Regions from separate parts of the Homo sapiens genome. Here all the other regions are linked to region 1. The links are contacts of gene promoters, found by promoter capture Hi-C in human tissues and cell types (Jung and others, 2019). All regions are on one chromosome and are shown on one strand. Each heading gives the region's core, a stretch centred on a gene start or on the middle of the fragment in contact. The rest is flanking DNA. Distances are from core to core; before and after follow the strand shown. Region 1 holds the start of DSN1 (DSN1 component of MIS12 kinetochore complex). Region 2 overlaps MROH8 (maestro heat like repeat family member 8). Region 3 overlaps DLGAP4 (DLG associated protein 4).

The links. The method cuts DNA at HindIII sites, captures the fragments that hold promoters and counts their contacts. A contact is called where the count stands out against the background at its distance.
Region 2: a fragment that was not itself captured here is called in contact with the fragment with the promoter of DSN1 in region 1 in 1 of the 25 tissues and cell types used here (dorsolateral prefrontal cortex).
Region 3: a contact is called between a fragment that was not itself captured here and the fragment with the promoter of DSN1 in region 1, in 1 of the 25 tissues and cell types used here (spleen).

The regions. Positions count from the first base shown.
Region 1 is chr20:36,771,880-36,775,957 of GRCh38, forward strand. It overlaps DSN1 (DSN1 component of MIS12 kinetochore complex), which reads right to left and starts at 1,884. Exons shown (of 11, transcript NM_001145315.2): 1 at 1,783-1,884. LOC124904894 (a long non-coding RNA gene) reads left to right here and starts at 3,256. Exons shown (of 2, transcript XR_007067574.1): 1 at 3,256-3,339. RefSeq lists enhancers at 1,643-2,188, 1,810-1,869, 2,000-2,139, 2,150-2,229, 2,189-2,735. The HindIII fragment of the contact is 22,977 bases long and covers 1,176-4,078 here.
Region 2 is chr20:37,166,665-37,170,742 of GRCh38, forward strand. It overlaps MROH8 (maestro heat like repeat family member 8), which reads right to left. Exons shown (of 25, transcript NM_152503.8): 5 at 1,457-1,579. Among named protein-coding and RNA genes, the nearest start is that of RPN2, 11 kb to the right of the region's middle. The HindIII fragment of the contact is 4,728 bases long and covers 1-4,078 here.
Region 3 is chr20:36,444,740-36,448,817 of GRCh38, forward strand. DLGAP4 (DLG associated protein 4) reads left to right here. Exons shown (of 13, transcript NM_001365621.2): 7 at 1,958-2,198. Among named protein-coding and RNA genes, the nearest start is that of MYL9, 95 kb to the right of the region's middle. The HindIII fragment of the contact is 6,823 bases long and covers 1-4,078 here.

The DNA.
Region 1 (4,078 bases), core at 634-3,133:
CTAGTTTATTTATTATTTTGAGACAGGGTCTTGCTCTGTTGCCCAGGCTGGAGTACAGTAGCACAATCTTGGCTCACTGCAACCTCCTCCTCCCCAGTTCAGGTGATTCTCCTGCCTCAGCCTCCTGAGTAGCTGGGATTACAGGAATGCACCACCATACCTGGCTAATTTTTGCATTTTTAGTAGAGATGGGGTTTCCCCATGTTGGCCAGGCTGGTCTCAAACTCCTGGCCTCAAGTGATCCACCAGCCTAGGCCTCCCAAAGTCTGGGATTACAGGCGTGAGCCACCACGCCCAGCCTCACTGTTACTAGTTTAGTTCAGGTCTCATAATTTCTGGTCCCTCCCACTATCTTAATAGTCTCTCCACTAGTTTTTCTACCTCCAACGGCCCGTCTCCAGTCTATTCTTTGTTTTTGTTTTTTTTTGAGGTGGAATCTCACTCTGTCGCCAAGGCTGGAGTGCAGTGGCGCAGTCTCGGCTCACTGCAACTTTCACCTCCCAGGTTCAAGCAATTCTCCTGCCTCAGCTTCCTGAGTAGCTGGGATTACAGGTGCCTGCCACCACACCTGGCTAATTTTTGTATTTTTAGTAGCGATGGGGTTTCCCCATATTGGCCAGGCTGGTCTCGAACTCTTGACCTCAGGTGATCCGCCCGGCCTCAGCCTCCCAAAGTGCTGGGATTACAGGCCTGAGCCACCACACCCGGCCCAGTCTATTCTTCAGACAGTTGCCGGGACTTTTCCAAAGTGTAGTCAACACCTCAGGTAAACTAGTCCCAATTTACCCATTCCTGCTCTCTCCTCCCAGTCCTATTCCCTGTACTACTTCTGAATCTTTGCACATATCTGTCCTTCTACCTGTTAAACTTATTCATCCTTCCCAACCTGGCTCAAATATGAAGCTTTCACATCACTTATCTTTGGCAGAGTTGGTGGTTATGCCCCTTGGCCTTCGTAGCATTGGCTATAAAATCTGTTTACATGTCTGTCTCCCCAGCCAGGCTGTATTTGTATTCCTAGTGACTGTCAGGAACAACTGCCTGGAAGGCAGGGATGTCACCTAGGCATCTCTTCATCGTCCCCTCCCTCCCAGCAGAAATCTGTCTGTGGGGGGTGCTAAGTAAAAAGATATGAATATATGCAGAGGGACAAAAAGGAAAAGATAACAAGGAGGGCTCGGTCAAGGATCTGAATCCCCCACGGTCCTTATGACAATATCACACAAATCCAGGCTTGGATAATAACGACTGTATCACACAGATCCAGGCTTAGAAAAGCAACAACTGTCAACTGTTAAACGCTTATTCTGTGCTAGGACCTGTGCTATGTAAGCGCTTTACTTGCATCGTTATTCCACTTAATCCCTTCCACAACTCCGTAAGCACCATTAACTCCACTTTGCAGACAGGGGAACTGAGGTTCAGAGGGGCAAAAAGCCTGGCCCAAGCTTGTGACACAGCCAGCCTGGGGGCACAGGGGCAATTCGAACCCCAGCCCTCTACCCAGTCCTCACCCCTGTTTCTGGAGCCTAGACCCCTGGCACGGCAGATACGTCTCTAATGGGGTCGGTAAGGGGGACTGCCCTCGGGTTTCATTTCACCCGGGAGGAGGTCGCAGCGCCCTCGGGGACCCCCAGTGTCCACGGTCGGGGCCGGGGCTGCGGCGGGTCGAGCTGGGCCGACGGGTACGACGCCGAAGAGATTAGTGCGGCGGCGGGCGGGGCCACATCAGAGGACAAGTCTGTGACTTCCTGACGCCCGTCCAGTCCGGAACCTCCGTACCTGAAACACAAGGCCACGGGTCGCTCTCCACAGCCCCAGGTCACTCCTGGACGCCTTGCGCACCCGCAGCCGATACTCCCTGATCAGGGTGAAGCGGTCTCCACCTTCTACGTCACGGTCACCGCCTCCGAAACTCCCGCCAACCAAGGGCGCATGCGCGGCCGTCAGTTTCTCGGGCACGCGCGCGCAGAACGCCTGCCTCCGGCGATGCACATGCGTACACCGCCGCCCGACGCGCATGCGTACACCGCCGTCCAACGCTCCTGCCAGCTCCGCTCCTCTAGTCCAAGTCCTTTAGGTCCTGTCTGGCCACGTCACCACCTCCCCGCAACACCCCGCCCGGGAGTCCCTTTCCGGGACCCGCCACACTATCGTGTCCTTTTGCGCCCGACGGCCCCAGAGCCCATCTAAGATGGGGGAAACAGAGGCCCGGAGAGATTCTTGCCGGAGGAATACAGCGCCTCAAAGGGCATCTGATGCCCTGTCCCCGTCGCTAGGCTCTGGTTCCCACTCCCTTTATCTCCTTAACTCCCAAAATGTGGACCGTGACTCTCCCCAGGGTGGACTGGAGCTCTGAGCTCAGTTTGCCTCACAGTCTATCCCACTCCTGCTCTAGGACTTTTTCTCTCTCATTTCCAGGCCACTCCCTCAAACGGCTTGCTTTACTTGCTTGGTGGGTGGGGGCCTGCCCTCGGGTTTCATTTCACCCGGGAGGAGGTCGCAGCGCCCCCAAGTGGTCGCAGTGTCCTTAGTCGGGGTCGGGGGGTGCGGCAGGTCGGGCTGGTCCTTAGGGGTAGGACGGGGACAGGGCATCAGATGCCCTTTGAGGCGCTATATTCCCAGGCGCTGTTCCCTCTGCCTGGGAAGGCTTTCCCTGCTTTTCCTAGCTACATCCTCCAATTTTTTTGTATTTTGAGACGGAGTCTCGCTCTGTCGCCCAGGCTAGAGTGCAGTGGCGCGATCTCGGCTCCCGGCAACCTCCGCCTCCCGGGTTCGGGTTCAAGCGATTCTCCTGCCTCAGCCTCCCGAGTAGCTGGGATTACAGGCGCCCACCACCACGCCTGGCTAATTTTTGTATTTTTAGTAGAGACGGCCACTAAAAATGTTGGCCAGGCTGGTCGCGAACTCCTGACCTCAAGTGATCCACCCACTTCGGCCTCCCAAAGAGCTGGGATTACAGGCATGAGCCACTGCGCCCGGCCACATCCTCGAATTTTAAGCCTCAGCTAAGGAATGATTGATTTCTCTCCAAGCATTCTCTCTGGCCTTAGGCTGAAAACCAACTGTCCTTTCTGTGCTCCCAGGAGCCCAATCTGTTCCTGCTCCACTATCCCATGCTGGTCTAGGAGGCTCCAGAGAGCGGGCTGCTTCCTCAGCACCCAGCACGACGCCACCAAAATGTCCCCTTGGATGTGCACAGTCCTTTCTTTCACAGAAAAACTTCCAAATATTGAATTATAAGCAGCCCACAGTCCAAAAGAGGGGTTGGAGAGAGGCAGCTGGAGCTGACCGTGGTCATCCTTCCATAGCAGTTGTGGTCCTTGGAAAAGTTTTCTGGTGGGAGACAAAAATCTGCCTTCCTGAAATTTCCACCCTGTGGTTCCAGCCTGCTGGCTGCAGCAGCCATTCTGAAAGCAGAGATTTGCCCTTGGCTCCCTGAATATCACTTTCTGGGGTTGAGAGGTACCCAGTTCCTTTTATGCTTGCCTGCCTCTTAAACTCCTCTCTGTCAACGTGCCAGGAAGAGAACTCAGTGTTCCTTCCCAGCTAGGGCTGGCCATCCTGGGGCACAATGAGAAAATGATTTCATGGAATACAGACCCAATACATCTTCTACATCGTTTCCCTGCTTTGAATTGTTGCATGGCTCCCTCCTGTCCACAGGAGGCACACATTTTTTTCCCCTATAAGGCACTGTGTCATTAGGCTGGGTGTGGTGGCTCACGCCTCTAATCCCAGCAGTTTGGGAGGCTGAGGCCTGCGGATCAGTTGAGGTCAGGAGTTTGAGACCAGCCTGGCCAACATAGCAAAACCCTGTCTCTACTAAAAATACAAAAATTAGCCAGGTGTGGTGGTATGCACCTATAATCCCTGTTACTTGAGAGGCTGAAGCAGGAGAATCACTTGAACCTGGGAGGCCAGGAGAATCACTTGAACCTGGGAGGCCAGGGCTGCGGTGAGCTAAGAACATGCCACTGTACTCCAGTCTGGGCAACAGAGCAAGATTTCATCTCAAAAAAAAAAAAAAAAAAGAAAAAAGAAAAGAAAAGGAAAAAGAAAAAAGGCACTGTGTGAT
Region 2 (4,078 bases), core at 764-3,263, 390 kb after region 1:
ACTCTGTTGCCCAGGCTGGAGTGCAGTTGTGTCATCTCAGCTCACTGCAACCTCCACCTCCCAGGTTCAAGCAATTCTCCTGCCTCAGGAGAAGCTGTGATTACAGGCGCCTGCCACCATGCCCGGCTATTTTTTGTATTTTTAGTAGAGACGGGGTTTCACCATGTTGGCCAGGCTGATCTCAATCTCCTGACCGCAAGTGATTCGCCCACCTCGGCCTCCCAGAGTGCTGGAATTACACATGTGAGCCGCCGCTTTTTGTTGTTAAACCTGTATTATATCATCCTGTTCTTCTTAATGTATTATTTGGAATAGTTCTCAACCTATTTACTTTTTGAAATATGGCTACTTACAGATGGATCCTAAACCCTTCAAGGGCAAGGATTAAGGTTTCCAGGAAATGCGTAACCTTTATCAAAGCACCACAGTGTGTTTGGATATAGAAGATCCTTGGTAACTGTCCATTACTTAAAACTGTTAGCTGGTTAGCCTTGAATTATAAAAGCTATCAGTCTAATCAGCCTTATAGATCTGTGATATGAGAAAGAACTACTCATATTTCTGGAGTATGTAAGAAATTTCAACATCAGAATTTTAAAGCTTTAGAGAAACTGAAGGAGACATTTCACAGATGAGAAAACTAAAACACCAAGAAGTACTTGCTTGAGTGCATCAGCTCCTTTGCAATGCCCTTCTGGATCCTTTGCCATGGAACTGACCACTCAATCTCTACTCTCAGCCCCCCATATGCCTATTTAAACTTGTCACAGTTCCTGTGACATTTTATTATACCTTGCTTGGCTGCATAAATAGGGATTTTGTCTTCTTTGTCTTTGTAGCCCAAATTCCCAAGACAGTTCCTGGAACTGTCAGGCACTTAATGAGGGAATGAATGGATGAGTTGGTGGCAGAGTGTGGCTGGAGTAAGTACAAATAGAACAAAATACGATAACAATAATATAGTCATGTTTCTCAAGTGGCTCGTGTGTATTAGGTACCATGGACATGGCTTATATTTATTTTGAATTTAATGGTCACAATAGCTCTGTGAAGTAGATATAGCTATTCTTGTTTTATAGGGGAGGAAACTGAGGCATTGAGAAGTGAAGTAATTTCCTACAGTTTCACAGCTATAAAAAGGCAGGGCTGTCCCCTGAACCTAGGCATACGATTATGGGGACTGTCTGGGAACTACTGCTTGAGTCATGAGAATGTAGCGTTGGCCTTGCTGAGAAATTCAAATGCTGTTCCTGTCCTTTCTACTCTTCTTTTAATTGGTTTTCAAGGGTGATTACATGTGTGGGGTGGCCATGAGTATTTCTCCTCCATGTGGAGATACTGATACTAGAAGAGTTCAAGTGAATTGATAACATAGGTGAAGCCACTAAAAAATGCTTTGGCCAAGTCACTGAATTTGTGTGATCCCAATCATTTGTGATAAGGTCATAATACTTACATTTAAGGTATGCACAATGTCTGCTATGTGGCTGTGAATGAATGATTTTGCGGTTTCATCATAAGGTAAAGCTTGGCTGAGAGAAGACAGATCTCCTAGGAATTTCAGCTTTTCAAGTTCACCCTGAATTTGTGGGAAAATGATAAAAATACAATTATATGTCATAATCTTATTTGAATAACTGTGGAGAGTTTTTGAAAAGTTTCTTGGAATGCTTTAAATATCTGACATCTCTTTCAACCCAATATCAGTCTTTTATTACAAAGAATGAGTAAATTACGGAAGATTTCAGTGAAATTCCTTGTCCGCTGGCCCTGCCTTGCTTTGAGACCTCGGCTCTCCTCTCAGCTCCATGTTCCATCCTGGCTTTCCCCACTCTTAGTCTTTGCTTTTCTACCTGCCTGTCCTGTGTAGTGTTGCCTGATTAAGCTTCCTAGGCTGGGCATGGTGGCTCATGCCTGTAATCCCAGCACTTTAGGAGGCCGAGGTGGACAGATCACCTGAGGTCAGGAGTTCCAGACCAGCATGGCCAACATGGTGAAACCCTGTCTCTACTAAAAATACAAAAAAGTAGCCAGGCGTGGTGGCGCGTGCCTGTGCCTGTAGTCCCAGCTACTTGGGAGGCTGAGGCACGAGAATCACTTGAACCTGGGAAGCGGAGGTTGCAGTGAGCTGAGATGGTGCCGCTGCACTCCAGCCTGGGTGACAGAGTGAGATCCCATCTCAAAAAAAAAAAAGCTTCCTAAAGGTGACCTCTCTGATTCTGTTACTTCTAGTTCTTTCAATGTCATTAAAAATTCATTATTTTGCTTTTAAAATTTCCTATTAAAATCCAAGTTCTGATTGGAAGAATAAAATCTCTCAGTACTAACATTCTCTTTTTCTTTTTTATTTTATTATTACTATTATTATTATTATTTTTTTGACATGGAGTCTCGCTCTGTCACCCAGGCTGGAGTGCAGTGGCACGATCTCAGCTCACTGCAACCTCAACCTCCTGGGCTCAAGCAATCCTCCCGCCTCAGCCTCCCAACTAGCTGGGACCACAGGCACGCACCACCACGTCCAGCTAATTATTTGTATTATGTTGCCCAGGCTGGTCTCAAACTCCTGAGCTCAAGTGATCCACCTGCCTTGGCTTCCCAAAGTGCTGGGATGACGGGATGACAGGTGAGAACCACCATGCCTGGCCTCTCTTTTTCTTTTTCTTTTTTTTTTTTTTTTTTTGAGATGGAGTCTCGCTCTGTCACCCAGGCTGGACTGCAGTGGTACACCTGGGTTCAAGTGATTCTCCTGCCACAGCCTCCCAAGTAGCTGGGACTACAGGCATGCACCACCACACCAAGCTAATTTTTGTATTTTTAGTAGAGATGGGGTTTTATCATCTTGGCCAGGCTGGTCTCGAACTCCTGACCTCAGATGATCTGCCTGCCTTGGCCTCCCAAAATGCTGGGATTACAGGCGTGAGCCACTGCACCCGGCCTCTTTTCTAATTATACATACATACATATATATATAAAATTCCTATTTATCATAGAACCTTTTTTTTTTTTTTAAGACAGGGTCTTGCTCTGTCATCCAGGCTGGAGTGCAGTGGCGTGATCACCACTCACTGCAGTCTACATCTCCTGGGCTCATGGGATCCTTGTACTTCAGCCTCCTGAGTAGTTGGGACTATAGGTGTGCTTGAACCTGGGAGACGGAGGTTGCAATGAGCCAAAATCGCGCCACTGAACTATAGCTTGGGTGACAGAGCAAGACTCTGTCTCAAAAAAGAAAAAAAAAATCTCTATATATCTTAAGACTTGGAGAATGCGTTTGCTCCTGAAGCAGGGTCCAGTGTCCTTTCTTTTTTTTCTTTTGAGACAGAGTCTCACCCTGTTGCCCAGGCTGGAGTGCAATGGCATGATCTTGGCTCACTGCAACCTCCGCCTCCCAGGTTCAAGCTATTCTCCTGTCTCAGCCTCCCAAGTAGCTGGGATTACAGGCACCTGCCACCATGCCCGGCTAATTTTTTGTATCTTTAGTAGAGATGGGGGTTTCACCATGTTAGCCAGGCTGGTGTTGAACTCCTGACCTCGTGATCTGCCCACCTTGGCCTACCAAAGTGCTGGGATTACAGGTGTGAGCCACTGCGCCTGGCTGGTCCAGTGTCCTTTCTAAGTGTATCTACAAACCACATGAATAAATTGCTATCACAGCACTTGCGATACTCTGACATAATGACCTTCTTATTAATCTATTTCCCTGACTGACTGTGGAATCAGCTCAAGGCAGGTAATGGGCTTTTTTGTTTCAATTCATGGCAGCAATCCAAGCCCTTCATTAACTACAAAGAAATCGAAAGAAAACCATGCTGATATGAAGTATAAGGATTAGCTGAAGTCAAAAGTGAAGGCCAACATGTTGGCTTTAAATGTTTTATTTTTATTTTTCATTGGTATTCTACATAAAGAAAATGTACAGTTTGGTGGATTTTCACAAACCAAAAAACACCCTGTAGCCAGCAACAGATTATTACTAGCATTCCTGAAGTTTCCCTCATCCTCCTTCCAGTGGAGGCTCTGTGTGGTTTTGTGTGTATGTGTATGTGTGTGTTTTGTGTGTGTTTTGGTAAATTGA
Region 3 (4,078 bases), core at 538-3,037, 330 kb before region 1:
AAGTGATTCTCCTGCTTCAGCCTCCCAAGTAGCTGGCACCACAGGCATGTGCCACCACGCTCGGCCAATTTTGGGATTTTAGTAGAGACAGGATTTCTCCATGTTGGCCAGGCTGGTCTTGAACTCCTGACCTCAAGTGATCTACCCACCTTGGCGTCCCAAAGTGCTGGGATTACAGGCATGAGCCACCACGCCTGGACTAATCAATTATTATTATTATTTTTTAATTTTTTTAGAGACAGGATCTTGCTTTGTCCCCCAGGCTGGAGTGCAGTGTCACAATCATAGTTCACTGCAGCCTCCAACTCCTGGGCTCAAGTTACTGGGACTTGAGGTGCATGCTACCACTCCTGGCTAATTTTTGTATTTTTAATTTCTTTTGTAGAGCTGGGGTCCCACTATGTTGCCCAGGCTGAATTTTAATTAATTTAAACCCAAATAGCCATACATGGCTCATGGCTGCCATACTGAAATGCACAGATTTGGCCAGGCGCAGTGGCTCATGCCTGTAATCCCAGCACTTTGGGAGGCCGAGGCGGGCAGATCACGAGGTCAGGAGTTTGAGACCAGCCTAGCCAATATGGTGAAACCCCGTCTCTACTAAAAATACAAAAATTAGCCGGGCATGGTGGCACCTGCCTATAGTCCCAGCTACTCAGGAGGCTGAGGCAGAAGAATTGCTTGAACCCGGGAGGCGGAGGTTGCAGTGAGCCGAGATCGCGCCACTGCACTTCAGCCTGGGAGACAAAGCGAGATTCCATCTCAAAAAAATTAAAAAAGCACAGATTTAGACCTTTCCATCCACCCTCCAAATTGGGTGAACACCCATCTAGTTGTTTGACCTGATGCAGTCTCAGATGAGAATGCGAGCACCTATTTCATGTAGATGAGGAGAAACTGACCCAGAGAAGATAGTGATGGCCTGAGGTTACACAGCTGGGTGGGACACAGCTGGCCCCAGGCCCAGATCAACCTTTTCCTCCACATGGTCAGTCAGCTTGTGCCCCCTCCCGCTGTGGCCCAGGCCAGCCCCCAAGATGTCCACATCTTTGGCCAACTGACCCCCCAGCTTATCCTCTGTGGTCTTCAGTTACCAACATGGCCTGAGACATGGGTCAGATAGCCCTTCCAGAACCCTCAAAGAGTATGTGCATGGTGAGGCCCCTCAATGCTCATACCCTTGGCTTCAGATTTTCAGGGTCCTAGACAGTCATTTCTGGAGAAATACTTAGGACCCATCTACACAAAGTTGAACTAGATGCAAGATAGCAGATAGCATACACATCACCATTTTCCATACTGTCCATGGCAGACATCATTAATCAATCCTCACTGCAACTACCCTCACTCCAGTTTTTTGCTTCAGCTTCGTCTCTGGCCTCTGCCTCCATTCCAGACCCCTTTCCCAACATCCATTCTGTATAAGAGGGCTAGATTAATCTTCCTTAAATACATATTTGGAGTGTTGGTTCTGCCACTTCCTCACTGGGTACCCATGGCAAGTGTCTTCCCCTCACTGACCCTTGGTTTCTTTCCTTGTAAAATAAAGGGATTGGACCATAGGATGGTAAATATCCAGCTACCTACCGCCACCCCCATTCCAACATTCAGGACAGACATTGCTAATTGATTATAGACCTCTTTCACACTAAATTCAGATGTGACCTTGAAATCTATTAATCAGTGTGGACCCTGATTTTTATCACAGTTAATATCCTGAGATATTCCAACTTTGTCCTCATTATAGAGATGGGAAAATTGAGGCCCAGAGAGGTAGGACTGTTTCTTTCTTAAGGGCTCCATCTCCCCATCCCATACGCTGAGTGAGATGGACAGGGGTGGGCTGAGGTCAGACCCCACAGACTGTCCAGCCCTGCCCTGAGCCCACCACCAAGAACCGCTCCCCCCAGGATGGGCAAGATAGCCAGCTCCCTCATGCCTGCCTTTGCCTGGACAGGTACGGGAGGCAGAGCTGAGTGACCAGTATGAGGCGGCCTGCGAGTCAGCCTGCAGTGAAGCGGAGTCCACAGCGGCAGAGACGCTTGACTTGCCACTGCCCAGCTACTTCCGCTCCCGCAGCCACAGCTACCTGCGTGCCATCCAGGCAGGCTGCTCGCAGGAGGAGGACAGTGTCTCCCTGCAGTCCCTCTCCCCACCGCCCAGTACCGGCAGCCTCAGCAATAGTCGCACGCTTCCGAGTGAGTACTGTGATGAGGGAAGGGGTTTTTTTTCTTTTCAAGGGGACCCCAAGGACCATACCTGGAGGGCCAGCCTGGGAGGATACAGGGAGGAATCTGTCTCAGGCTGGCCCGCACCAGGGGGATGGTTGGGAGCAAAAGCAGGAGGCCTTGGAGCTGAACTTCCAGCCAATTGGCCACTGGAGCTCAAATGGGGGTCCCAGAGGCAGATGCCACCCCTGGGGGGCATGGGAGGTATTGGAGGGGCTGGAGCTTGTAGGGTACTTGGTTGCTCCTTGGCTCAGAGCAGCCACCTGCTATAGTCAGGGCTTACTGCAGCTTGACCTGCCTCTTGGAATTAGTTCAGGTAGGCAAACCTGTAGGGCAGGTTGGAACCTGCAGAGAAGCCTGCAGTGAGGGTGGGGTCTGCACTGAGCCTTCTCAAAGGGATGTGTTTTACAGGCTTCTCTCATATACACAATCAGGGAATACCTTCTGGATTCTTGGGTGTTTTGTTGTTGTTGAGACAGAGTCTCACTCCACACCCAGGCTGGACTGCAGTGGCATGATCTTGGCTAACTGCAACCTCTGCCTCCCAGGTTCAAGCAATTCTCATTCTTCAGCCTCCCAAGTAGCTGGAATTACAGACACATGCCACCATGCCTGGCTAATTTTTGTATTTTTAGTAGAGATGGGATTTCACCATGTTGGCCAGGCTGGTCGTGAACTTCTGACCTCAAGGGATCTGCTCATCGTGGCCTCCCAAAGTGCTGGGATTATAGGCGTGAGCTACCATGCCCAGCCCTGGATTCTTGTTCTAAATCATCTGAAGATAACCCATATGTGATCAGAGAAAAAAGGGGACCCTGTATAACTGAGCAAGCCATGAAATAATAGAAAATTGCATGTTCTCACTCATAAGTGGGAGGTAAACAATGAGGACACAGGGAGGGGAACATCACACACCAGGGCCTATCAGGGGGGTGGGGGGGGGGGAGACAAGGGGAGGGAGAGCATTAGGACAAATATCTAATGCATGTGGGGTTTAAAACCTAGATGATGGGTTGATAAGTGCAGCAAACCACCGTGGCGCATGTATACCTTATTAAGTATTATTAAGATGGTCAAAAAAAAAAAAAAAGACGTAATAGAAAATTAGCTGGGTGCAGTGGCTCACGCCTATAATCCCAACACTTTGGGGGGCCGAGGCAGATCACTTGAGCCTAGGAGTTGGAGACCAGCCTGGGCAACATGATGAAACCCGGACTCTAAAAAAATTAAAAATTCGCTGGTCGGGTTGGCATATACCTGTGGTCCTCGCTACTCAGGAGGCTGAAGCAGGAGGGACATCTGAGCCCAGGAGATGAAAGGTGAAGTGAGCTGTGTTCACACCACTGCACTTCAGCCTAGGAGACAGACCAAGACCTTGTCTCAAAATAATAATAATAGAAAATCAAAACCAAGGAAAAACAGCACAATTTATTGTTTATCAATAGTAGAGAGAGGTTTGAGCTTACTCTGGCAAGCTAGTTCGCCTTCCTGAGCCTCAGTTTCTCCATGTATAAATTGAGGGCATAAGCCAGACTCCAGGGATCTCTTAGGGAGATGAAACAAGACTGTGCATAGGACATGTTTAGGCAGGGACTTTCTTGTGGTAGAAGCTTGGTAAGTGGTAGCTGTTATTGTTGGTTCTCAGACCTGACTCTGAGCTTCCTGAAAATCAAAAACAATTGGGGGCTGGGCATGGTGGCTCATGCCTGTAATCCCAGCACTTTGTGAAGCCAAGGTGGGCAGATCACTTGAGGTCAGGAGTTCGAGACCAGCCTGGCCAACATGGTGAAACCCCATCTGTACTAAACATACAAAAATTACCCGGGTGTGGTGGTGCACACCTGTAGTTC